Linked DNA regions of Homo sapiens: all the other regions are linked to region 1. Evidence: promoter capture Hi-C in 16 types of primary human blood cells and fetal thymus (Javierre and others, 2016). All regions are on one chromosome and are shown on one strand. Each heading gives the region's core, a stretch centred on a gene start or on the middle of the fragment in contact. The rest is flanking DNA. Distances are from core to core; before and after follow the strand shown. Region 1 holds the start of PJA1 (praja ring finger ubiquitin ligase 1). Region 2 overlaps MTMR8 (myotubularin related protein 8). Region 3 overlaps LOC112268307.

Region 1 (2,700 bases), core at 85-2,584:
GAGTGCAGTGGCGTGATCTTCACTCACTTCAGCCTCAACCTCCTGGGCTCACACAATCCTCCTGCTTCAGCCTCCTAAGTAGTTGGGACTACAGGCACACACCACCAGCTTGTCATATCTTTCTCAGTGAATAAAGCAACCTGTTTTGTTCTCTTTAGTTCTTTTTACTTTGAGTTCTCGATGTTTAGGATATTGATATTGTTACGAGTTTGTTTCCTCCTTCCTTTCCTTCCTTTTTTTTTTTTTTGCTTCTTTCCTTCCCTCATTCCCTCTCTCCCTTTTTTCTGCTAGTATTTTACTCTCATATATTTTTTATTCCTATTTCTGCTTTAGGTGAAACTCACATAAATAGAATATAACTTAGCTTTTAAAAACAAAATGCTCAAAATAAGAGTTTGGTTTTTATTAGGAGATGTTAACCCATAATGCATGCTGATATATTTGGATTCCTGCATTTTTGTTTTCTTTTTGCATCCTTTTTTTTGTACCCCCCCAGCAACATTTCTTGACCTTTGTTAAGAATGAGTTTTTCTCTTTGTTCCACATATTATTACTTTAATGGTTTGAAAGTTATACATTTTATTTCTATTATGTTGTTACCCCTAAGATTTTTGTTCTATTATGCATTTTGTTTCCAGTAAGAACAAAACTTTGCTACTGTTGTGAACATGGGAAATGTTTACATTGGCTGTAAATACTAGAGTTCCATTATAAAGCGCAATTTAAAGACTTCAGAATTCAGTAAAATGGTATAAATCCAAAAGGCGTAACTACAATATTTTTAACTGCAATGCAATAACAGAATATGAACCTGTGTTGTGTCCTATGATCTCTTGGACAGAGAAGCTTGGTTTTGTGATTAGCAGCAACAAATTCAACATAAACAGCTTCAATTTGCTTTAACCATCAGGTTAAAAAAAATTTAAGCTTACTGCAACCCTAAATATGGTTTCACAGTTTTAATACTTTCGGTACAACCATAACACGTAACATAGGATGTGATGTAGTAACGTAATTACTCTCACATTGGACTTAATCAGAAAGAATTTGCAGATTTTATTTTATTTATTAAAAAACCAGAAGGCAATATAGCTAAATGTTTAACATTAGTTAAAGCTGGGTGTTTGTGACATTTTTCGCTGTCCTTTTCTGTATCCTTGACGATTTCATCATTTAAGATGAAATAATGCTTTCGGGCCCACCCTGATTTGTGGAGAGCAGCTGCCGCCCCCGCCACATCAAGGAGGCGGGCTCCAGCTGACTTCACAATCACTTCCGCCGCCGCAGTCGCCGCCCGCCCCGCTGCTGTCTGGCGGGGGAGGAGCTCGGGACCGGGAGCAGCGGCTCTGGCGGTCGTGGCGGTCGGAGATCCGAGAGCTCTGCTTCTCTGAAAAGCGTGTGGCTTTCTGGACTTGGTGAGTGAAAGGCTGATTGTTTCCTCGATTCATCCGGGCGCTGGCGGTGGCGCGAGTGGCCGGGCGCGGGGCGAGTGGCCGGGCACGGGGGCGAGGATTTTGGGGGGTTCCTGGGAACTGCTTTTCAGGTTCGCCCCTCGGGAAGGGGTGGGGCGGACGCGGGACCTGACTGCAGAGTGAGGCCCATGTCCTCCATCGGCCTGTTCTGGGGCCACATCTTCCGCTGCCGGAACCCCTTTGGTGTGGCGCGGTCCCCACTCGAGTGGCTTTCATCGCTATTGGGAGGGCAGTGGTGGTCGCGGCCCTCTCCCACTTCTCCCTGCCTCTCCTCCCCTCTCCTTCCTTCTTCCCTCCTCGGCCCCTTTGCGGAGCACTCCGTGGCCTTTCTTCCCATATTTTGCTGTTGTTTTGCCAAATGGTAAATGGTTAAGATTTTTAGGTAAAAATACTGTTCCCAGGGAAAAAATTGGAAGGAAAAAATAATTATTCTCAGGGAAAACTAGACCCACGCACGCCCTTTTCTTTCATTTTCCCTCTCCCCTGCCACATCGGTTGGGGTCTCCCGTTTGAGCTGATGGCCTTTTCCCACCTCTTTTTATGACATTGCGTCCCCCCTACCCCCCACCCCCCGTGTGTCGCGAGCACGCGCCCCCGCACAGAAGCCTTCCATTGCAGCCCCCTCCTTGCCCCTCCATCCTCAAGGTTCCAGTGCTTCCCCTCCCCCGCGCATGCGCAGGCACACGCAGCACACACCCTCTCACACACCCTCACACCCTCACACCCTCCCATGCCTTCCCCCTCCTCTATCCGCCTACCACATACACACCTCTAGCACCGGCCCCCTCCCTGCTCGGCCTCTGCGTGCTCTCGCGAACACATGCCTATTCACACACCCCCTCCGGCTGCCCTCCTTCTTCCTTCCTGTCATATACACACATAAGGACATCCTTCTATCGCTGGCCAGTGACATACATATGTAGCCACATGTGCTCATTCATACCCCCTTCTCAAATGCTCTCCTCTATTGCTCTGTCTGCCACGTGTGTCAGACACAGCTCTCTTTTGCTGGTCCCTGAGGTGCACACACTCGCACTCACATAAATCCTTCTACGGGGACACAACCTGCCTCCCTGCTTGCCATATCCACACAGGCAGGCATCATTCTTTGATTGCCTGCCTCTGTTCCATCCACCTCAAGCACATCCCTCTCCAGTGCTGCGCACCCCCCACCCCCGCTTCCATTTGTGCCTGCTGCATTTGCTCACACTGACATTTCTCCATTGTT
Region 2 (2,730 bases), core at 15-2,514, 4.8 Mb after region 1:
AACTTCTGTTGTCCAGACTCCCTCTTCTCCCAACCCACCTAAGCTTGGGCCACGTTACTTGTCTAGTTCAAAATCAGCTCACTCGAATACTCCTTTTTTCTCTCTTTTGACAACTGGGGAAGATGGGGAGGCAGAACTGCTCCTGTCCTTGAGTGTTAAAATATTAAAATTCCCCTGTTAGGGATTGAAGCTATAAACTGGGCTGGCTCTATGGAAATTGGAAGGGAGAAGAAACCATTAACGGGCCCATATGAAAATTATAATAGCAGCTAATACGTATAGAATATTTAACTATGTGACAGGCACTGTGTTCAATATTTTACCTGAAATATGCCTTGAATCCTTACAATAACCTATTAGGAGATACTATTATTATTCCCATGTTACAGATGAGGAAACTGAGATCCATAGATGTGGAATGCTTGCCTAATAAACAAAGATAGGAGTGCTCAGACTGGTGCTGGGATAGGGTTCGTGCTCAAGAAAACTTAAACTTGCATCATGGTCAGACTCCATTTGTACTGCATGGATAGTGTGATTAGTCTTGAAATATAAATAAAAACTCCAAATGAAGACTTGATTCTTTAAGCAGAATTAGTATTTGTTTTGGTGCCTGGCAGGGCTGTGAGTGCCCACAGGTGGTATGCTGCTGTGAGTCTGTTTTTTTCTCAGTTTCTAGAAAGGATTAGGGTTGCATTAATGGCTCGGGATTAAAATGGCCTCCCTTTTGTTAACTCACTGTTTCCATAAAAGAGAGAGACATCTGCCTTGTCCATCTCAGGTCAAAGGGATAACTTTGAGTTTGTCAGTCATTAGTTGTGTATGTCAAGTACAAAAGTGACTTTTATTTTTGGCTCTTGCTTGAGTCTTTTTCTTTACTCAGGAAGACTTTAAAAAATTATTGAAGTACAGTACACATAAAGAAAAGTGTATAGATTGGAAGTATTCATTGTGCTATAAACTTAAAAACTGGACACACCTGTGCAACCGCTACTGAGATTAAAAAAAACAAAAACAAAAAACAAACAAACAAACAAAAAAAAGAACATTACTAGAAGTCCACTTCATGCCCCCTTCCAGTCAATACCCCTCCCAAGGGTAAACTACTATACTGACCTCTAACAGGATACATTCATTTTACTCTTTTGTTGTACTTAATATAAATGGATTAATACATTCTCTTTTGTGTTTGACTTCTTTTGCTCAACATTGTTTGAAAGATTTATCCATATTATTTCTTGAAGTTATAGATCATTCTCATTGCTATATTATGTTTTGTTAACATGCCACATGTGATTTATCCATTCTTCTGTTGATGGGGAATTTCCAGTTTCTGCCTTTTGCCAATAGTACATTTTGACAGATTTAAATATACATTTTTGTTGGTATATGCCATCGGAGTGGAATTTCTGGGCCGTAGAATATGCATATGTTCATCTAGACACTACCAATTTTACATTCCCACGACCTATGTATGAGAACAGATCTATCTAAGATATAGCTTAGGGTTCAACAACCATTTTTGGAGCGTCTCAGACCTGCCCTAAAGTTTGGTGACTCTCCTATCTGAATCAGAATTTGTTCTATGTATTTTTCCCTACCCTCATTACATCTGTGTCAGTTGGCACCCAGAATTCTTAATTACTTTTCTTTCCTGGAATGGAACCTTAATAATAAGGCTTTATGCAATTAACATTTATTGAGCTTCAACTGGTTTGACAATTTGCTGTGGTTTAAGAGTGCATACTTTGGAGCCAGGCTGTCTGAAATAAAATCTCAACTCTGCTACTTAACTAGCTTTGTGATTTTGGCAAATATATAATCTCTTTTGCCTCAGTTTCTTCATCTATAAGATGGTGTTGAAAATAGTACCTATCTCACAGGGTTGTTATAAGAATTAAATAAGTTAGTATCTGTAAAGTGCTTAGAACAATGTCTGGCACATGGTAGATGCTTAATTTAGCTACCAGTCACTATCATCATCGTTATTAATTATTATATGCAGAATATCACATTGGGAGTCAAGGATACATAACTGGATATGGATATGGCAACTGCCCTCTGGGATCTCTTAAGTAAGGTGATGAGATGCCAAGCACAAGGTCCAAAAATGAAAGAGACTGAAAAATATGTCTATTCTGTCTTGTGATCTGATGGGAGCAGCCTGACAGGCAGGGAGAAGCTCTTCCAAGTTTACAGCCTCTTAGACCTCAATAACTACTCTAGAGAATAGTGTTATGTGTTTAATTCATGAATCTCTTTAATCAAGGACAAGGATAATTTAGTCAAAAATCTGTTTTCTGGACTCTCCTTCACATAAATAATTGCTAGCTCATTAAGGAATGTTTTAACACAAAAAAAGTAATTTCTACATTTGTGTGGGTAGAAAAAAAAGACAGTGAAAGATTTTATAGATTGTAAAGGACTTTGAATGTTACACTGAGGAATTTGAACTTGTAAATAGCCAAGGAGCTACTAAAGCTTTATAAGTCTAGAAATGGAAAAGTTAGAAAGGACCTTTTAAAAGATTATCTAAATGAGGAATGGGGATGAAGTTTCTTTTTGGAATGATGGAAATGTTCTAAAATTACATTGTGATGATGGTTGTACAACTCCAAATTTACTAAAACTAATTGAATTGTATACTTAAAAGAGTGAATTTGTCTGGGCCTGGTTGGCTCAAGCCTGTAATCCCAACATTTTGGGAGCCCCAGATGGGAGGATCACTTG
Region 3 (2,768 bases), core at 19-2,518, 5.0 Mb after region 1:
TCATGATAAGAAAGAGAAAATTTAAAAATGACTCTAAAATAAATAACAATAAAAAATATACCAAGAGGTGGTAAATGCTGTGGATAAGAAAAAAAGGCCTATTAAAGAATTGGAGAGTGAAGGGGGTGGAAATGGGGATTGCTATTTTATATATCAACTGTTCAGTGAAGGTGTCACTATTAATGACATTTGAGCAGCCACCTGAAGGAAATGAGGTGCAAACTATGCCAATATTCAGAGGACAAACACTGTAGGCAGAGGGAGCAGCCAGTGCAAAGGCCCTGAGGTGGGATTTCTGACAAGTCAAATTCAGTATGTCCTAAACAAAATCATTTTTTTTTTGGAGACGGAGTCTCGCTCTGTCGCCCAGGCTGGAGTGCAGTGGAGCGATCAAGGATCACTCCAAGTTCTGCCTCCCAGGTTCATGCCATTCTCCCGCCTCAGCCTCCCAAGTAGCTGGGACTACAGGCGCCCGCCATCACGCCCGGCTAATTTTTTGTATTTTTAGTAGACACGGGGTTTCACCGTGTTAGCCAGAATGGTCTTGATCTCCTGACCTTGTGATCCGCCCACCTCGGCCTCCCAAAGTGCTGGGATTACAGGCGTGAGCCACCGCACCTGGCCACATTTTCCTAATTCTGTTCCTATATTACTCAGTTCAGTGGATGACAACACCATCCAGCAGTCCCTTGTCCAAGTAAGAAACTCAGGAGTTTTCTTCCTCTTCCACTAGACTGGTTGCCCTTGAGACCAGAAGCTGTGTGTAGTCCATCATTCTGGGTAATGAGTGTGTCACTTAACACAGGGCCTGGCACAAAGGAGATGCCCAATGAGTGGTAACATCACACTTCATTGGTGGATGCTGGCACTTAAGCTTGATATTAGGCCTGAAAATGCCTCATTTCATGTTCAGTAAATACATACTCATCAACAAGTTTCTGCCAAACTCTCTGTTGAGTGCTGAGGATATGAAGATGAACAAAATATTCTGCCCTGGGAAACTGAGTCTGGGTCTGCACAATAAAGTGAGTCTGTTCATAAGGAATCATAGGCTCATGTGTGTTTATATTAAAAACTGGTTTCGGCCAGGTGTGGTGGCTCACGCCTGTAATCCCAACACTTTGGGAGGCCAAGGCAGATGGATCATGAGGTCAGGAGATCTAGACCAACCTGGCTAACACAGTGAAACCCCGCCTCTACTAATAATACGAAAAATTAGCTGGGTGTGGTGGCAGGTACCTGTAGTCCTAGCTACTCGGGAGGCTGAGGCAGGAGAATGGCGTGAACCCGGGAGGCGGAGCTTGCAGTGAGCCGAGATCGCTCCACTGCACTCCAGTCCGGGCGACAGAGCGTGACTCCGTCTCAAAAAAAAAACCAAAAACAAAACAAAAACTGGTTTCAAAGTCATATTAGCAGTTCCATAACTTTGAAGATCTGTACATTGGATCAGAAGGATAGCAATAATAATAACAGCATCAGTAACTAACATTTATTGATACCATCTTATGTACTAGCCTCTGTGCCACTTCATATGGACTACTCAATTCTTACCACAATTCTCTGACATGGGTGCTATTATTTTCATTTTGCAGAAAAAAATGTTGAGACTCAGAGAGGTAAATTGACCTGCCCAGATCATACTGCTCCTAAGTGGCAAGCTTCACATCCCAGCCCAGGCAGTCTGGTGGCAGAGCCACTACAACATACCACTTTCCTGGAAAAGATGAACTTAGCTAGTTGAGCCTCAATTTACCCAGGCAGTCATGGTCTTTTACACTTTGGCCCCAGGCCTTTCTTTCTAGTCTAATGTCCAGCTCTTCCTCTCCCCACCACACAAATACTTAGCCACAGCCATCCAGAATTGTAGCTCTTGCCCAACCCACCATACCCTCTCACTGATGGGCTTTGGCTTGGGCAGGAATCCTTCCCCTACTTTTCTGACTTGACCCAACCGTCAAAGCTATCCTCCATAGAACTTTTCTCTGATACCCCTTGCCACCCTGGGGAGAAGGAGTCTCTTCATCTGCAATGCTCCAGAACACCTTTGCCAGACCTCTAGTGTAGATTTCAGTTCCTCTCAGAACTCCATACCCAGGTGCCTCAAAAAGGTTAACACTGTACTGCTTCTCCCAATAACTATCAACAGGCCTGGCATAGAGGAAATGACTATGGAATACTTGGTGAAGAAAGAAATGAGCATTGTAATGATGTGCCCTGTAATGATGTGTCTACTTGAGTTTATGAAGTTGCCTCCACACAGCCCACACATCTGTTCTTATGGGCTTTTCACCGCAGCCACAAGACACTAGGCAGCACGAGGATTATCTCCATTTTGCAGGTAAACAAACTTAAGAAAGATTTCCAGCTCCTCACAACCAGTGCCTGTCTTGACTAAGCAAGTTGACCACGTGTCAGTCAGCATGTGGAATGGGGTCTTACAGTACTCTCTCTATGAGGAGGCATTTTGAGGTGCAAGTTTATGCACACACTTGGTCTTTCCATACATCGTCCCTGGAGAGAAGTGAGCTATGCAAACAAGAAGCTGTGTTGTCCCCTCCCACATCTTTTCCCCTTTAATACACACATACAGTATCCTCCCAAGACTCAGTAATATCTGGACCATAAAGAAGGGTGCTCAGCTGGGAGTTCTCTAGGATCACAAAGAATATTTTTTTTCCTGAAGCCCCATTTCTTTTGGGTTTAGCTCAATTTCTCACGAATTGTTCCTCCCACACTAGTCACTCCAAAAACTGACTGGTGTGACAGAA

What was found. Contacts are between HindIII fragments. The CHiCAGO score rates a contact against its expected background, and 5 or more counts as called.
Region 2: a fragment that was not itself captured here is called in contact with the fragment with the promoter of PJA1 in region 1 in 1 of 17 cell types (naive CD8 T cells); the score reaches 5.4 in naive CD8 T cells.
Region 3: a contact is called between a fragment that was not itself captured here and the fragment with the promoter of PJA1 in region 1, in 2 of 17 cell types (activated CD4 T cells and total B cells). The highest score is 7.1, in activated CD4 T cells.

What each region holds. Positions count from the first base shown.
Region 1 is chrX:69,164,087-69,166,786 of GRCh38, reverse strand. It overlaps PJA1 (praja ring finger ubiquitin ligase 1), which reads left to right and starts at 1,334. Exons shown (of 2, transcript NM_001032396.4): 1 at 1,334-1,415. The HindIII fragment of the contact is 4,972 bases long and covers 930-2,700 here.
Region 2 is chrX:64,390,891-64,393,620 of GRCh38, reverse strand. The region is part of intron 1 of MTMR8 (myotubularin related protein 8); the gene reads left to right. Among named protein-coding and RNA genes, the nearest start is that of MTMR8, 3.2 kb to the left of the region's middle. The HindIII fragment of the contact is 2,438 bases long and covers 46-2,483 here.
Region 3 is chrX:64,207,836-64,210,603 of GRCh38, reverse strand. The region is part of intron 2 of LOC112268307; the gene reads right to left. Among named protein-coding and RNA genes, the nearest start is that of AMER1, 3.5 kb to the right of the region's middle. The HindIII fragment of the contact is 784 bases long and covers 877-1,660 here.